3 separate regions of the Homo sapiens genome follow, and all the other regions are linked to region 2. The links are contacts of gene promoters, found by promoter capture Hi-C in blood cells and fetal thymus (Javierre and others, 2016). All regions are on one chromosome and are shown on one strand. Each heading gives the region's core, a stretch centred on a gene start or on the middle of the fragment in contact. The rest is flanking DNA. Distances are from core to core; before and after follow the strand shown. Region 1 overlaps KAT6A (lysine acetyltransferase 6A). Region 2 holds the start of SMIM19 (small integral membrane protein 19). Region 3 overlaps KAT6A (lysine acetyltransferase 6A).

Region 1 (2,875 bases), core at 336-2,835, 540 kb before region 2:
GCAGTAAACAGAATTAGAAATATAATTGTAGCCCATCAAAAATGGAAAAAAAAGTTACTAATAACAATTATATTTGGCTACTGAATTTAAATGTTAGCCATTTTATTTTCACTGTACCTACATGGAAGTTAGTTATCTTTTAATCCAATTGCATAAAAACAACTCACTTTGTCTTAAGAAAAATTTTTAAGAATTAAATCTATAGATCAAACACTTTTCAGTCTCAAACAAAAAATTCTTTCTGACCACCATATATCTTATCCATCCAGGTTACTCTGAGCATAAACCACCATAAGCTTCTCTCAAATCTATCCCTCTACAACTACAACCTAGACTGCCTCTCCAGTCCTCTAGTGGCTCCCAGGTACTTCATCCTACTCCCTTCTTCTATAATCAAGTAAAGTAAATTTAACTTGAAATTAACTTTCTTCGGTGGGTATTTGTTTCACAGAACTTGAAACAAATAATTTTCAGCAGAGACATTATCTATAAGCTGATAAACATCTACTGACAAGCACTCTACTATACAAATACCTGAAGGATTAAGAGGAGTTAAGTCTTAAGCTTAGAAGGGTGGAAAATTGGACTATTTTCAGGCATGGTATAGTGAAGGAAACCAAAATGATGCTCAATGACTGGGCATGAGGAAAACGAGTATTGCTAGGTTGTCAAAATATAACCCAATACACAGTAAGAAGTCTAGTAAATGTTACTCCTTGGTGGGCATTTTAACATAACATAAAAATTTGAATCAATCAAAGAAAAGGTTGTACTCACATTTTCAAAGCACTTATAAATGTCAGTCAATTCAAAGACAAAATCCACACAAAACAATTAGAAACCAATTAAGTACCATTCATATTTTCACTCACACACCAAAAAAGTAAGCCTTCTGGAAGAATCTCTGCAAAATTCGTTATTTCCAATATCATAAGAGTAACAAACTGCACACATATTCCCTTTAGGAAACTCATCCTTTGTTGGAAAGTGTTCATACTTTGAGAAAGCTGAATGTTCTAAAACGTATGGTTCTCTTCCACTCAGGCAAGCTCTTCATGTCAATTTTACCAAGTTTTTCATTCTTTCACTAATAATAGCCTTTGATGAACTCATGCTCTGACCAAATCCTTTCTGACAGTTTTGAATTCCATTTTTAGCCACCTTTTCCAAACTGATATCCTAGGTGAGCAGATATCACCACTTAATTCACCTATGCCTTGCACTTAGTATATACTAAGTAAGCGTTTGTTGAAATTAAAATGCAATGAAACCATGCTTAGCTCCATTTATCATTACTTACTCAGAGCCTTTCCTCCTAGATTCTATATCTTCAAGGAAACTATATCTGGGTGGACTTTAATCTCTTTAAATTCTTCAGCATCCCATATACTATCAAGTACTCTATGGCTGCTTATTAAACATTTTTAAGGATAAGCTGTTCTCAAAAGTACACACCTGCAAAAGATTTATAATAATTAAAAAAAAAATGAATGGCCTGGGAAAAGACCTATAATTTCCATTACTTATAGTATATAACTTTCTATAATTTTAATCAATTCCAACATAACCCATTAGCCATTACAAAACTTTAATAGGGATGCTAAATTGAATTCATTTTTATTATGATGAGTTCATTCAATGACTTCTACAATTAGACATCAATAAGATTACTGGTGAAAGTTAATGATATAATTGGATCAGTAATGATAAACTTCAATTTCCACTTTTACTATGTATGTAGATTATTGGAAATTCAGATAAGAAATCAATCATCTATTAAGATACTCTAACAATCTTCTATTTCTTAATCAGAAGTGACATCAAAAATGACAATATCCATATTTGCTGAATTTAAATTCTAAGTTAAGAAACTGCAAAGCGTTATCTTCCTTTCACAGGTTTAGTGGTTATTTGAAAGCTCCACTTTCTATTTGTCAGTGATACATTTCCTCATTCATCCAAATACTGGATGATATTTACAAATTATTATTGCCTCTCCCTTCCTTTGTGGTCCTTTTCTTTCTACTTTAGTTTCTTTTACATGTTTGTACCTCTCTCCTGACTCAGTCATGTCACCATATGCAATCTCCTCCATAGACTGACTCCCTCTACTCTTTCTTTGACTTTTTTCTGCATATTGCTACCAGATTAATCCTCCTTAAATACTATTTTTATCCAGTCATTTGCCTGGCTCAAAACTTATAAAATATATCTCAACTGTCAACTCCCACAGGCTGGCATTCAATTCCCTCCTTTATATACTAAACTACCTTTCTCACTCTATCTTCCTCTATTCCCAATCTACTCATTCATCTTCAGAAATCATACTTTACGCTCATTCTCCAGGGTATTTTACCCCTTCTCTCAAAGTCGTTTGTATCTCCACCTACAAGAATCACCTCAGCAGCACTTAGAAACAAACTGGGTTCTGCCACTGTGGCATCACTTTAAGCAAGTTACTTAAGTGTTGAAAAGTACAACATACCTGCCTTTCAAGTTAATGTGAAGATTAACAGATAAAGTTATGGCTGTGTAATTCAAATGTAAGAAACACCTAGTAAGTGCTAGTTTCTGCTACACCTTTTTCAAAACTGTATCTATCCTTCAAAGCTTATTTTTGTTAACTGACTGATTGCCACTTCTTAACTCAGGGCAAGTTTTAGTTCTATTTTAACTTCCTGAAATAGGCAAGTTCATTAAAATTTCCTGTGGCCTAAGAAATTTTCTATATATGGTATTTACTTATGCAACTGCATTAAGAGTTTTAAAGTCTTTGTACATACACATTTGCCACACTGCATATTACCCACTTAAAAAAATAATTTAGTGGTACTTGAGTATAAGAGCATTAGCAAAAGAATATTTCTATGCTAAA
Region 2 (3,062 bases), core at 543-3,042:
TGGGTGACAATGTTATATAATAGAAACTCTGATAAATAAGAGACACGGGGCTTTGGAAACTATTCAGCACCTAAATAAAGGGACTAATTGTACTTCTATGAATTTTTAAAGCCATCTTCCAACTTGAAAAACACATTAATTTACTCTATGGGTAACATTTTATATTGCCAACACTCTTATTTTACAAAGGCATAAACAAGCATTTAATGCACACGTTTGCCCGGCGCGGTGGCTCACGCCTGTAATCCCAGCACTTTGGGAGGCCGAGGCGGGCGGAACACCTGAGGTCTGGAGTTCGAGACCAGCCTAGCCAACATGGTGAAACTCCGTCTCTACTAAAAATACAAAACTTAGCTGGGCGTGGTGGCGGGCGCCTGTAATCCCAGCTACCTGGGAGGCTAAGGAAGGAGAATCGCTTGAACCCGGGAGGCGGAGGTTGCAGTGAGCCAAGACAGTGCCATTGCACTCCAGCCTGAACGAGAGCAAAACCCCGTCTCAAAAAAAACAAAACAATAACAATAATGTACACGTTTCACATTTGGACACACTGAAATCAAACTCACGTATTCAAATTTTTTTAGATTAAGTTACATAAAGCATGCACACCATTTGGCACAGGCCCGGCAAACAATCAGTACTCAACATCACCTGTTATTTTCCTGATTTTCCAACTTTAGAGTCAAACTAAATGTTATAGAATTATATGTATGATTATGTATATACAATATATATAAATACATATAAATACCGTAAATTAAGCTAGTATGTTATTGCGTAAAGTAATGGTCTTACCCTAGACGAAGGTGAGTTTAATTGTAACAGATGAAACAAAGAATAGAAAACTTGTTAAGAAGTGTTCAATGTAAGCTCTCATCTCTGCAGGGTTTCATGTGACTTATAATTACCAGTCAGCTGGTCCTAGAGAACTTAATCAAAATGTATAGTAAAGACGAACTACGTGGACCAGTGGCCATTTATCTGCAAGGTGGCACCAGCCACTGACATCTGATCACTTCCATACTGATGCTGAAATCCTATGCAAATTCATTACTTAGGTCAAGCTGGGAAACACTTCTGTCAAGTCACTACACAATTAAATAAAAATACCCAAAAGGGACTTACACTGACAATGCTATAGCATCCTGGCCATATCCAGTTTTGAAAACACTACGGTGTCAGCCACGCACCATTTAGGACGGGGAGAATGGAAAGCCAGTTTGGAGAACAGACGCTTTCTTAAGAGTACACGTGAATATGAAAAGGGACTCTATGCTCTCAAGACCAAAAAAGAAATCCTCTGCGCCGCCCGGCTACATTGCGCCTGGTGGGACAATGTACACGACCCCTCCCCCGCCGAGTCCCACCCCAAGCGCGCACAGCGGAGCAGGAGGCGCCCGGCACTCGCAGGTAATGCCCGGTCCCTGCCACTTCCGTCGAGTTTTCGCAAAGGCGCCGCACGGCAAGCGACGGCCAGGTCCACGTGGGCCAGCAGGCGCGGGGGACGCAACCCGCCGCCGCCGCGAGCCCCGCCGGCGCCGACCAGCCCTGGCCCCCACCCGCGGGAGCCCGGGAGTCGGGCCGGGGGCTCGCGGGAGGCGGCGCGCGCAGCCCGGGCGGGGGTCGCGGCGCGGTAGGGGAAAGGAGCCCGGCTCCACTCACGCGCCCGGGGGCGGCACTGGGGCCGCCGCTGCGTCTCTCCGGCTCAAAAAACTGAAAAGGGGAAAGGAAAAAAAAAAAAAAAAGACCTGGCTCCTCGTTTCATCCGGAAACCGACCGGCCGGCAGGAAATGACGAAGGCAGAGGGCGTCCAGGTCCGCTCGGTAACCGTTTCCCGCGCGCCCGGCCCCGACTCCGGGGTAAAGAGCCCCGGAGCGGAGCAGCGCTGGCCGCGTGCCGCCTCCGGAGCCGGCAGCGTGAGTGGCCCCGCGTCCCCGCTTCTCCCGGTCCCCGGCGGGGCCGCGTCACCCGGCCCCGCCCCGCGCCGCCCGCCCCGCCCCGGACGCGGGGGTAAGGGGGGTGGCCGCCCGCCTGCCCTCGGTCCCGTGCGGTCCCCGAAACTCCGAGCACCCGCCCGGTCCCGGCGCGGAGCCCCTCGGCGTCGCGTGGAGCTGCGAGTCGCCCGCTTCCGGAAGCGCACACGGGCCAGTTGCGGCGGCCCATCTGCCGGGGCGGCGGGGGCTCGGCGGGAGGGTTGAGGCTGAATCACGCGCAGCCTGCGGGCGGCGGAAACGTCCCTAGAGCCTCGCCGCCCTGGGACCCGGGCTGCTTCCTGGGAGAGGATTACATTTTCTCCCTGCTCCACTTGACTTTCTTCCGGAAGGAGCAGGTCTCGCAGGATCGGGGCCAAGACTGGAAGAGTTCAGGTTTGGGAGTCGTGTGTATAACAGCCCCGCGCCTCCACGCCCAGGCCTGTGTGGCTTTGGACAAGTTATATAACCACCGCCGCCACCCCAGTTTCTTCTCCTGTAAAATGGAGCTTTAGTGCCGCCCAGCAGGGTTGTTGGGATAATTCAGTGACTCTGTGGACTGCCCAGCACCTGTGAATTGCTTTCCTGGATGTTGGGTGAAGGCCTGTGAGCTTGTATGTACCCTTTGGCTTCAGAATACCAAGCCTTTAGTGTTTCAGAGGGATGAGAGAAAGAAATCCCATTTTTTGATGCAGAGGATTTTGTTGTAAGGGACTCTAGGAACTAAGTGGTTCCAATGTGAATTTGTATCAAAGTAACAAAGTTCTAAGTGAGAGACAAAAATGATAACATTCAAGGCACGATGACAAGCGGTGGTCAATTTTAGAATCACCTAGACGTGACATCAGGAACCCAAAATCACGACACAGATTTTAAAGCTTATGATACAGTGACCTAGTCCCTAGAAAAAGTAGTTCTCGGCTGGGCACGGTGGCTCACGCCTGTAATCCCAGCACTTTGGGAGGCTGAGGCGGGCGGATTGCCTGAGCTCAGGAGTTTTGAGACCAGCCTGGGCAGTATAGTGAGACGACCCCCACCCCACCCCCGTCTTTAAAAAAAAAAAAATAAGAATTACCCAGGCATGGTGGCACTTGC
Region 3 (2,963 bases), core at 307-2,806, 580 kb before region 2:
CAGCTACTCAGAGGCTGAGGCAGGAGAATGGGGTGAACCCAGGAGGCAGAGCTTGCAATGAGCCCAGATCGCGCCACTGCACTCCAGCCTGGGTGACAGAGCCAGACTGTCTCGAAAAAAAAAAAAAAAAAAAAAGTTGGAAAAGTTTCTTTCCATTCTCCAAAGAAGATATACAGATGGCCAATAAGCTCATGAAAAGATGCTCAACATCACTAATAATTAGGAAAATGTAAATCAAACCACAATCAGATACTACTTCACACCCATTAGGATGGTTATTATTTTTAAATGCAAAACACCAGAAAATAACAGATGTTGGTGAAGATGTGGAAAAATCAGAACCCTTGTCCCATTGCTGGCGGGAATACAAAATGGCACAGCTGCTGTGGAAAACAGTATGATGGTTCCTCAAAAAAGTAAACAGAATTACCACATAATCTAGCAATTCCACTGCTGATTATAGACCCCACAGAACTGAAAGCAGTTCTTTGTATATGGGTATCTATTTGCATACTCATGTTCATAGCAGCACTATTTACAACCCAAGTATCCACTGACAGATGAATGGATAAACCAAATGTGGTACATACGTACAATGGAATATTCTCCAGCCTTAAAAAGGAAGGCAATGGTTGGGCGCTGGTGGCTCACGCCTGTAATCCCAGCACTCTGGGAGGCCAAGGTGGGCAGATCATGAGGTCAAGAGATTGAGACCATCCTGGCCAACGTGGTGAAACCCCGTCTCTACTAAAAATACAATAATTAGCTGGGTGTATGGCACATGCCTGTAGTCCCAGCTACTCGGGAGGCTGAGGCAGAAGAAACACTTGAACCCGGGAGGCAGAGGTTGCAGTGAGCCAAGATCGCGCAACTGCACTCCAGCCTGGGCAACAGTGCAAGACTCTGTCTTTAAAGAAAAAAAAAAAAAATACAAGGAAGGCAATTCTGACACAGGCTAAAATACATATGAACCTTGGGGACATTATGCTAAGTGAAACAGCCAGACACAAAAGGACAAATATTGTATAATTCTACTTATGGTACCTAGAGTAGACAAATTAATAAAGGCAGAAGACAGAATGATGCTTACCAGGGGTGGGGGTAGGGGTGGGGGGTTGGGAGTTGTTTAATGGGTACAGAGTTCCAGTTTTGCAAGATAAAAAAGTTCTGGAAATAGATGATGGTGATGATTGCACAACAAGGTGAATGTCTTTAATGCCACTGAATTGTACACTTAAAAATGGTCTGGTTAGGCCGGGCGCAGTGGCTCATGCCTGTAATCCCAGCACTTTGGGAGGCCAAGGCCGGCGGATCACGATCGAGACCATCCTGGCTAGCAAGGTGAAACCCCGTCTCTACTAAAAATACAAAGAATGGCGAGAACCCGGGAGGCGGAGCTTGCAGTGAGCCAAGATGACGCCGCTGTACTCCAGCCTGGGTGACAGAGTAAGACTCCGTCTCAAAAAAAAAAAAAAAAAAAAGTCTGGTTAAAATAACTTTTACATTATGTATATTTTACCACAATTATTTTTTTTCAAATTTTCAGGACTCCTTAAATTTCAGGATTCTGGATATTGTGACCTATCTTTCCCTTTTCCTAAGCCTTTTTGCTCTACACTCAGACTTCTCTTTATCCATCTCCTTTGCTAATTCTTTTACCATTAAATATTGACAAAATCTAGAATTCTGTCCTCGGCCATCTTACCTTTTCCATCCGGAGGACCCATAATCCAGTGCTTCCATCAGCTTTCCACTCTCCCCACACCCTCCTTTCTCTCTACGCAGCTTAGATTCTAAGGTCTTTTTCCCTGTAATTCCACCCTTTGCATAGACCTTTAACTCTCTAGTTTCTCTTCTAATTTCACAACAAAATCCTAACCCCTGTTAAATTCAACTCTTCACATAATCGAAGTTATTACCTTAATGTGAATATGGGTGGAGAAAAACAGAGAATCATGCTACCCAGTCTCACATTATACACCTACCCACAAACCTCAAGCAGGTCCTGATGCTTCCTACTCCATTCACTCTCCCGTTCTGAAAGACAACTGCACCCTTTCTCCTCTGCTCAAGCCTCCAACACTGCTTACTCCACCTTCACTTTCAGCCAATGCTTTTGCTTCCTACTGCACTAAACTGGACAAAATCAAAAGAAAACTTCTGCAATTTTTCCCACCCACATCTGTCTGCCTCCACCTTTGTGCCACACATCCTGCCTTTCACCAATACTATGGCTAAAGATTGAGCTCCTAAGCCCACGGCTTCCGTTTGTGCATGAGATAACATCTTCCTGCTCCCTAGCCAAAGAACATCACCCAGCAGTTCCCCTCCTATCTTCTGCATCATCAGCTTTCCCTCTACCAGAGCATTCCATCAGCATACAAACAGCTGTTATTCATTCCATATTTTAAAAAGGGGGAGAGGGGTGTGTGGGCATGGTGGCTCACCCCTGTAATCCTAACACTTTGGGAGGCCAAGGTGGGCGGGTCACAAGGTCAAGAGATCGAGACCATCCTGGCCAACATGGTGAAACCCTGTCCCTACTAAAAATAGAAAAATTAGTTGGGAGTGGTGGCGCACACCTGTAGTACCAGCTACTCGGGAGGCTGAGGCAGGAGAATCCCTTGAACCCGGGACGTGGCGGTTGCAATGAGCCGAGATGGTGCCACTGCACTCCAGCCTGGTGACAGAGCGAGACTCCATCTCAAAAAAAAAAAAAAAAAAAAAAGTATCTTCTTTAGCCCTCACAGCTCTATCCAACTCTCCCTTTCTCTGCTCCTAATTACTGTAAAAAACCTCAAAACAATGGCCACATATTACTACTATAACCAATTTCTCCTTCCATTCTTTCTTGAAACCACTCCAATTATCTCTTCACCCTCCCCTGTCCCCATCATGGAAACAGTTTCTCAAGATTACTTCCTTGTTGCTAAGCTGGACAGTCAATTTTCAGTTCTCTTCTT

What was found. The method cuts DNA at HindIII sites, captures the fragments that hold promoters and counts their contacts. A CHiCAGO score of 5 or more calls a contact.
Region 1: a contact is called between a fragment that was not itself captured here and the fragment with the promoter of SMIM19 in region 2, in 1 of 17 cell types (fetal thymus). The highest score is 5.3, in fetal thymus.
Region 3: a fragment that was not itself captured here is called in contact with the fragment with the promoter of SMIM19 in region 2 in 3 of 17 cell types (non-activated CD4 T cells, total CD8 T cells and activated CD4 T cells); the score reaches 7.3 in non-activated CD4 T cells.

Annotation. Positions count from the first base shown.
Region 1 is chr8:41,997,374-42,000,248 of GRCh38, forward strand. All of the region lies in intron 2 of KAT6A (lysine acetyltransferase 6A), which reads right to left. Among named protein-coding and RNA genes, the nearest start is that of KAT6A-AS1, 53 kb to the right of the region's middle. The HindIII fragment of the contact is 2,046 bases long and covers 563-2,608 here.
Region 2 is chr8:42,539,793-42,542,854 of GRCh38, forward strand. It overlaps SMIM19 (small integral membrane protein 19), which reads left to right and starts at 1,793. Exons shown (of 4, transcript NM_001135674.2): 1 at 1,793-2,581. It also overlaps a transcript of SLC20A2 not described here. RefSeq lists silencers at 1,374-1,653, 1,794-2,213. The HindIII fragment of the contact is 8,293 bases long and covers 1-2,843 here.
Region 3 is chr8:41,959,046-41,962,008 of GRCh38, forward strand. The region is part of intron 8 of KAT6A (lysine acetyltransferase 6A); the gene reads right to left. Among named protein-coding and RNA genes, the nearest start is that of KAT6A-AS1, 91 kb to the right of the region's middle. The HindIII fragment of the contact is 5,570 bases long and covers 1-2,963 here.